Regions from separate parts of the Homo sapiens genome. Here regions 1 and 3 are each linked to region 2. The links are contacts of gene promoters, found by promoter capture Hi-C in blood cells and fetal thymus (Javierre and others, 2016). All regions are on one chromosome and are shown on one strand. Each heading gives the region's core, a stretch centred on a gene start or on the middle of the fragment in contact. The rest is flanking DNA. Distances are from core to core; before and after follow the strand shown. Region 1 has its middle 24 kb from the start of OR10P1. Region 2 holds the start of OR6C65 (olfactory receptor family 6 subfamily C member 65). Region 3 has its middle 26 kb from the start of OR10A7.

Evidence for each region. Contacts are between HindIII fragments. The CHiCAGO score rates a contact against its expected background, and 5 or more counts as called.
Region 1: a fragment that was not itself captured here is called in contact with the fragment with the promoter of OR6C65 in region 2 in 1 of 17 cell types (erythroblasts); the score reaches 5.5 in erythroblasts.
Region 3: a fragment that was not itself captured here is called in contact with the fragment with the promoter of OR6C65 in region 2 in 1 of 17 cell types (M1 macrophages); the score reaches 5.2 in M1 macrophages.

What each region holds. Positions count from the first base shown.
Region 1 is chr12:55,611,993-55,614,692 of GRCh38, forward strand. It overlaps the pseudogene OR6U2P. Among named protein-coding and RNA genes, the nearest start is that of OR10P1, 24 kb to the right of the region's middle. The HindIII fragment of the contact is 3,700 bases long and covers 1-2,700 here.
Region 2 is chr12:55,399,223-55,401,922 of GRCh38, forward strand. OR6C65 (olfactory receptor family 6 subfamily C member 65) reads left to right here and starts at 1,307. Exons shown (of 1, transcript NM_001005518.1): 1 at 1,307-2,245. The coding sequence starts at 1,307. The coding sequence ends at 2,245. The HindIII fragment of the contact is 3,793 bases long and covers 1-2,537 here.
Region 3 is chr12:55,193,335-55,196,034 of GRCh38, forward strand. It overlaps the pseudogene OR10U1P. Among named protein-coding and RNA genes, the nearest start is that of OR10A7, 26 kb to the right of the region's middle. The HindIII fragment of the contact is 1,346 bases long and covers 758-2,103 here.

The sequences.
Region 1 (2,700 bases), core at 77-2,576, 210 kb after region 2:
CTGCAAGCCCCTCCACTACCCCATGCTCATAAGTAGTAGAGTCTGCACACAGCTCATCCTCACCTGCTGGCTACTAGGTTTCTCCTTCATCATCATGCCTGTCATCCTGACCAGTCAGCTTCCATTCTGTGATACCCACATCAAGCATTTCTTCTGTGACTACACGCCTCTAATGGAGGTGGTCTGCAGTGGGCCAAAGGTGCTGGAGATGGTGGATTTTACCCTGGCCTTAGTAGCACTGTTTGGCACCTTGGTACTCATCACCCTGTCCTATGTCCAGATCATCCAGACAATTGTCAGAATCCCCGCTGTCCAGGAGAGGAAGAAGGCTTTCTCTACCTGTTCCTCTCATGTCATTATGGTTACCATGTGTTATGACAGCTGCTTCTTTATGTATGTCAAGCCCTCTCCAGGAAAGTGGGTTGATGTCAACAAGGGAGTGTCTCTAATCAATACAATTATTGCCCCACTGTTAAATCCCTTCATCTGTACTCTGAGGAACCAACAAGTTAAGCAGGTAATGAAAGACCTAGTCAGAAAAATGACTTTGTTCCAAAATAAATAAGGGCCCTAAAAGTCATCTTCTGGGGAAAAAATGGGTGCCTTCTCCAGAGTAAGTCCACATGACATCAGGCCAAGAGGCAGGAGTCAGGGGCTTAGGCCCCCATTGCACCCCCAGCAAGGTGCAGGTTTCCCCACAGGCCATAAGGAAAATGTCCTGATATCATATGAAGAGTCTTATTACCTAGCCTCAGTCTTAGGTTTGCACCTTCTTTTATCACTCTGTCAGCCAAAGAAATGAGAAATAGCTAGCCTATGTCCCCAGGTGCCCTCAACTAGACTCCAGTAACAGCTGACATTCGTCAGCATGCCAGTTTCATTTTTAACACCTATAATGTTTGTAGAACACTTCATAGTTTCAAAAGCATTTTCTCAACACTAACCTCACTCAATCTTCACAATAACCCTGCGAAACAGATGGAAAAATTATTATTTACATTTTACATAAGATGTTGATATACTCAAACAGTTTAAGTGTATTGCCAAAGATCACACAGGAGACCAGGGTTCAAACCCACAACTTCTGGATCTAAACGCAATACCACATTTCCTACAGATGTGAGACATCTGGATTTAATAGTCATCTTTTGCTGCACGCAAATTATCCCAAAATTTAGCAGCTTAAAACAGCAAGCATTGATTATCTTGGTTTCTATGGGTTAGTAATTTGGGTTCAGCTTAACTCAGAGCAGCTCAATAGGGCTGTTGTCTCATCTAAAGACTCTACTGGGGGTGGGGCATGGTGGTTCATGCCTATAATTCCAGCACTTTGGGAGGCTGAGGTGGGTGGATCACCTCAGATCAGGAGTTTGAGACCAGCCTGGCCAACATGGGAAAACCTCATCTCTACTAAAAATACAAAACTTAGCCAGTCATGGTGGCATACACATGTAGTCCCATCTACTCAGCAGGCTGAGGCAAGAGAATTGCTTGAAACTGGAAGGTGAAGGTTGCAGTGAGCCAAGATCATGCCACTGCATTCCAGCCTGGGTGACAGAGTGAGACTCCATCTCAAAAAAAAAAAAAGACTCAACTAGGGAAGGATTAACTTCTGAGCTGCTCACTCCAGTTGCTGTTAGCAGGCTCTAGTTCCTCAGTGATTGTTGCCATGTGGGCACTCTATAAGAAAGCTCATAACATGGCAGCTGGCCTTCTTTAGAGCAAACAAACGAAAGAATGGCCAAAACAAAAGTGTTTTATAACCTAATGTTAAAAGTGACATCACATCATTTTTATCATATGCTATTTGTTAGAAGTAAGTCACCTAGTCCAGCCCATATTCAAGAAGAGGTGAGCACACAAAGACATGAATATCAGAAGGCAGGGATGATTTGGGAAACATTACATGCAGCCTATTACAATCTACCCTCTGGCACAGTCCACCAATGATTCATGTCCCTCCCACATGCAATATATATTCCACCCTTCTCGAAGTCATCAAAGGTCTCATCTTGTTATAGTTTCCAATCAAAATCCACAATCTTATCATCTAAACCAGGTCCAGGTGTAGATGAAGCTCCTTGGGTGTAGTTCCATAGGTACATACAGCCCCTAACTACTTTTCTCAATCTGTGACCTGTGAAACTAAAAAAGACAAGTTAACATCCCCACACACACCCAACATACAATGATGGGGTAGGCATAGAATAACTATAACTATTGCCACTCAAAAACAGGAAAAGAAAAGGAATTACTGGTCCAGAAAAATTATGAAATCCAGCTGAAAATGATGGAAACTCCTTAACTCATTCAAAACTTGGGAGTAATTCATTATTCCTCTTGGGCCCTTGGTCCTGCCCTCTGAGTCATTTTTTCCTTTTTCATGAAAAGTAGCACACAATTGTAGCTGAATAGTTTTCTCAGCCTTCTTCCTCCCAGTAGAATTACAGTGACCCAAATGCCTCTTTCTTATTTTGTACTGTCTTCTTTTCAATCCAAGATGACAGAGTTTCTGGGGATATAACTCATTCGGGAACTTTATGGATCTCCAGTGTATCTTCTTGATGCTTGCTTCATTAGATAAAAACCACAGCTAAGGCCTGAAAGATCTTTAAAGGTCCTGGTATCCCTATTATTTTATTGAAAGGACCACTGAAACACATTCTTAATTTCTTTAAAAGGTCTTTTGTGCCTGGTACT
Region 2 (2,700 bases), core at 57-2,556:
TGCATGACCCCATTTCAATGTCATCTTTACCCTTCCTAATATCTCACACTTTGACTCTGTTCATTAAATCAGATTACTCTCATGGGTCACTCAAAATTTGTCAAGATGGTTTCTCTGTTTCTAGTACTGGTAGCAACAGATCATGCTGAGCAATTCATATTCGGGATGTTGATTATGTACTTCACTAAAATTCCTGTTTTGTTGGCATAGACCACTACAGGTACCTGTATCAATCAAAATGGACTAATTCAGAATAATTGATGCATGCATGCAGAGTTTGGCCCATAGAACTAAAACAAACACTGGATTGATTGACTATATTTAAAAAGTCCGATTGGAACTTTTATACTGTGATCTTGTTCATTAATAAAGGTCGGCATTGTGTTTATGTCAACTTCAATCAGAAAGGAGCTAAGAGGATCAGTTTTGCCTACAGCAAGAGGAGATGGAGTTCAATTAATTTCCCATAAATATAGTATTTTCTGTGTTTTTGTTTGTTTTTGCTATGAAAAGAAATCAAGGCTCATTTTTAAAATTGAAATAACTCAAAATCTTTTCTTTTCTTTTTTTTTTTTTGTTTTTCTGTTTTTCGTTTTTTTGAGATGGAGTCTTGCTCTATTGCCCAGGCTGGAGTGCAATGGTGTGATCTGGGCTCACTGTAAGCTCCGCCTCCTGAGTTCACACCATTCTCCTGCCTCAGCCTCCGGAGTAGCTGGGATTACAGGCACACACCACCACGCCCGGCTAATTTTTCTTTTTTAGTAGAGACGGAGTTTCACTATGTTGGTCAGGCTGGTCTCGAACTCCTGACCTCGTGATCCGCCCACCTCGGCCCCCTAAAGTGCTGGGATTACAGGCGTGAGCCACCGTGCCCGGCCGAAAGTCTGTTTTCTAATGACAATATTAGCATTTGTATTTTATGGCCTTTAAGTTTTCAAAATTACTATGTATTCTGATAACTTGTTCAATATTCCACCAACAGAACAAAGCAAGCAAAATATTTATTATTATTTAACTATAAAAAACCTTTCTGTACATTAAGTAATCAAAACTATACAGCAGAGAATTATCAAAGATAAAACTTAAATGTTTTTTAAAGTAATGAAACACAAATTAATCTTTTCACTACTAAATAAATTCTGTCATGAACTTGCAATTCTAATGGATATTCTGCCACTTCTTGTTGAATGGGTCTTAAAGTTCTTGATGCAGAATAAGAGCAATCCTAGTGTATTTGAAATCAAATCACGTATTGACATTCACTCTTCTTTTTATCTACAGACCTATCAGAATTCAGAACTAAGCCATGCCAAATATGACATCAATTAGAGAATTCATTCTTCTGGGATTTACAGATAACCCAGAGTTACAAGTTGTGATATTCTTCTTTATGTTGATCACATACTTATTGAGTGTAAGTGGAAACATGATCATCATTATGTTAACATTGTCAAATATTCATTTGAAAACTCCTATGTATTTCTTCCTCAGGAATTTCTCTTTCTTAGAAATTTCATTTACGACAGTCTTCATTCCTAGATTTCTGATCAACATTGCTACAGGAGACACAACCATTTCCTATAATGCTTCCATGGCCCAAGTATTTTTTTTAATTCTTTTGGGATCAACAGAATTTTTTCTTCTGGCTGTCATGTCTTATGATCGCTATGTGGCTATCTGCAAACCTCTACATTATACAACCATCATGAGTAACAAAGTCTGTAATTGGCTTGTAATCAGCTCCTGGCTGGCTGGTTTTCTCATTATTTTTCCCCCCGTGATTATGGGCCTCCAACTGGATTTTTGTGACTCCAGCACTATTGACCATTTCATCTGTGATTCTTCCCCTATGCTGCTGATTGCTTGCACAGACACACAGTTTCTAGAGCTTATGGCATTTTTGCTAGCAGTATTCACACTCATGGTAACTTTGGCCTTGGTGGTTCTCTCCTACACACTCATCCTTAAAACAATTCTGAAGATTCCCTCTGCCCAGCAAAGGAAAAAGGCTTTTTCAACTTGTTCCTCCCATATGATTGTGGTTTCTGTTTCTTATGGGAGTTGCATTTTTATGTGTGTAAAAACATCTGCAAAAGAAGGTATGGCTTTGAGCAAAGGTGTAGCAGTGCTTAATACCTCTGTTGCTCCTATGTTGAATCCCTTTATTTATACCTTAAGAAACCAGCAGGTGAAACAGGCCCTTAGGGAATTCACCAAAAAAATATTATCATTGAACAAGCAATAATGATAACTAAATCTGTGGCTGAAACACAAATAAGCCAATAAAAACACAAAGCATCTTTCTACGTAATAGGTATACACAAAGGAACACACATGCAAAGATTCACACCATTGTAGAGCTTACTTCTAGTGATAAAACACACATATGGAACAATCAATATAATAGAAAATTACCTAGTACTTTAGTAAGGAACAAATGCTATTTAAAAAAAATAGAAGAAATATGGTATAGAAAGTAATATGGCAGGTAGAATTCAAATTAAATAGCTTGGTCAAAGATTTCATGGTCATCTTAAAGCTTCTTTTATTTTTTTTCTATATTCACACACGTTTTTCTGTATTCTTTATATATATTTTTTATTATACTTTAAGTTCTAGGGTACATGTGCACAACGTGCAGGTTTGTTCTTAATCTTTTCCTTTTTTTCTGTAATTTTTCCATCTTATCATATCTGTTTT
Region 3 (2,700 bases), core at 181-2,680, 210 kb before region 2:
AAATATTTAAAGTTCTTTCATGGTGTACACCACTCATTAGTATTTATTAACAGTTGGTTATTTAATATGTATGACCTTAAGATGTACAGAGAGCACACTAATTAAAGGAGCATACTCCAATTAAGAACTTAAATTCTAATAGACTATATTTGATACTAAAATAGTATTACTTCCTGTTTATTTCATTTTTTGTTTTATACTCATAAAGGATATTTCATTTTCCTCAGGAAAATGGCATGAAACATACTGGACTTAATGCTATTACCACTGGAGAAGGAGAAAATGGTAGCTTGACACATGAGATGCCCTGTAAATACTGTTGAATGAATGAATGATTAACAATTGAATGAATCTACTGTGTAGTTTCCTTTTACTTACAGACATTGAAAAATGTGTGACAAATCCAAATGTTTTTTGGTAGCTAGGCTATAAATGCTTTAATAAAAGAATATGTTGGTAGAAGAATCATAAAATCGGGTAACCTCTCTGTACAGTAGCATAGGTTTCAGCTACTATGACTGGTTTAGGCCGTTTGTCTAAGAGAGTTCCTTTGGGTTATCCTTTGAAAGGCTTCCTTTACTTCCTTGTTCCTCAAGGTATAGATAACAGGATTCAAAGCAGGTGTGACCATTGTGTACATGAGTGCAGTTGCTTTGTCTGTTTCTGGAGTGTGTGCAGTCTTAGGTTGCAGATAAGTGAACAAGGCAGTGCCATAGAACAGAGAAACAACCAAGATATGAGAAGAACAAGTGGAGAAAGCTTTGTGTCTTCCAGCTGCTGAAGGGATTCTCAAGATGGTCACAGGGATGTGCATGTGGGAGCACAGAATGAGGAAACAAGGACTCACAATAAATAGCACGGAGAGAGAAAACATCACAATTTCAATTTGGGAGGTATCAATACAAGCCAGTTTCAGTACAGGCATTATGTCACAAAAAAGTGTTGAATCTTTCCTGTTCCACAGAAAGGCAAAGTGAAGATCAGGGTGATCTGGGCTGACTCCACCACCACTCCAGTGAACCAAGATGCTGCAGCCAATTTCAAACAAACACGAGGGCCCATGAAGAGAGTGTAATGCAGTGGGTAACAAATAGCTACAAAGCGATCGTAAGCCATAGCTGCTAGCAAGCAGCATTCTGTCAGTCCCAAGATGGCAAATATGTACATCTGGGTTGCACAGCCACCCACACTTATGGTTTTGGTCTCCACCAGCAGGTGCACCAGCATGAGGCACCACACTGGTGGTATAGCACATCTCCAGAAATGAGAGGTTCACCAGGAAGAAATACATTGGAGTGTGCAGGGCAGGGGTGATCCAGATCAGGGAGATGATGATGATATTTCCTCCTATAGTGCATAAGTGATGATTAAGAACACAATGAAGAGTACAAGCTGTAATTCTTCTATAGAAGAAAAAGCCACAAATGTGAATTTGGCACACAGGGACTGATTTCCATCTATGGTGGGCTCAGAGCTAAACATCTGTGCAGACAACAAAGAAGGCAGGTTAATGGGAATGCAGTCACCTAACACATCTCTCTACTGAACCACAGCAAAGGAGCTTTCCTAGAATCAGTAGTCTGAGATGAGAATCTAGACACCTGGATTTCTTCTGTTAAATCTTTCTAAACTACACAATTACATCGAATACATATTTCTTCCTGATTTTAAGTTATGGATTATATGCAATTTTCACAAACATTTGGAAAAAACAATGGTTTTTAAGTTGCATATTCTGAATCTTTTGTTTTTGTCTTATCACTAATTATATACAGAAGCTATTATGCAAGCAATATATGAAGACTTATAATTTTAAAGGAGTCACATAAAAATTAATAGATTCAGATGTAAAGGTGTTATACTCTGGTCTTCCAAATTCTATAACCTTCCTTAAAGCTACACTTAAGGGCTTAAAAGGGAATATATTTCCAGCTGTTTATCTATGTATTTATGTACATATTTTACTTGATCTGAACAGAATAAGCAAATAATTACAAAGCTAAGATCCAAGAAAGCCAAAATCGACAGAATCTCCTTTCTACAACCTCAGTGTAAATTTGCAAGAAATTACAAATAGGAGAACATACCTAGAACCACAAGGTAAGCTTTCTTTTCCTTTTTGGGCTCCTAGACTTCCTATGGCTCTAAATTATAGCACAGTGATAGAATAGGCAGTATTTTTATTTCTACTAGAGACCATAGGGAATACATCCACTGTGCAGCTTAATTATATTTGTCTCAAGAGGAGTATATTAAAAACAATGAGTGTTTAATGTGCAAGTTGGTTTTCAGTTGTTAAAGACATTTCCAGAGATACCTATTGCTGTCAGTTATATCACCTGTTCCAATGCATAAAACTAAAAGTTGCTAATTGGAACCCATCATACAACTGAAATTATTATTAAACTCTATGGATGTTTGCCATAGTAATCCTTTTTAAGCTCCTCAAATGGACAGTGACTAATTAGGCCTTTGTAATATTGGTAGGCACAGTGCATGGAACATAGTAGCCTCCATAAACCCCCAAAATAGCATTCACTTTATTCATTATTTATTATTCAATTGCTAGCAGCATTAAAAAAATAGGCACGGGAAGAAAACCCCAAATTTCCAATGGAATTAATTAAAGTAATTGGTCAAAAACATTAAAAAATGTATTTTTCTTCTACTGTCTTCAAGAAATGAAAATATTTTTCATTC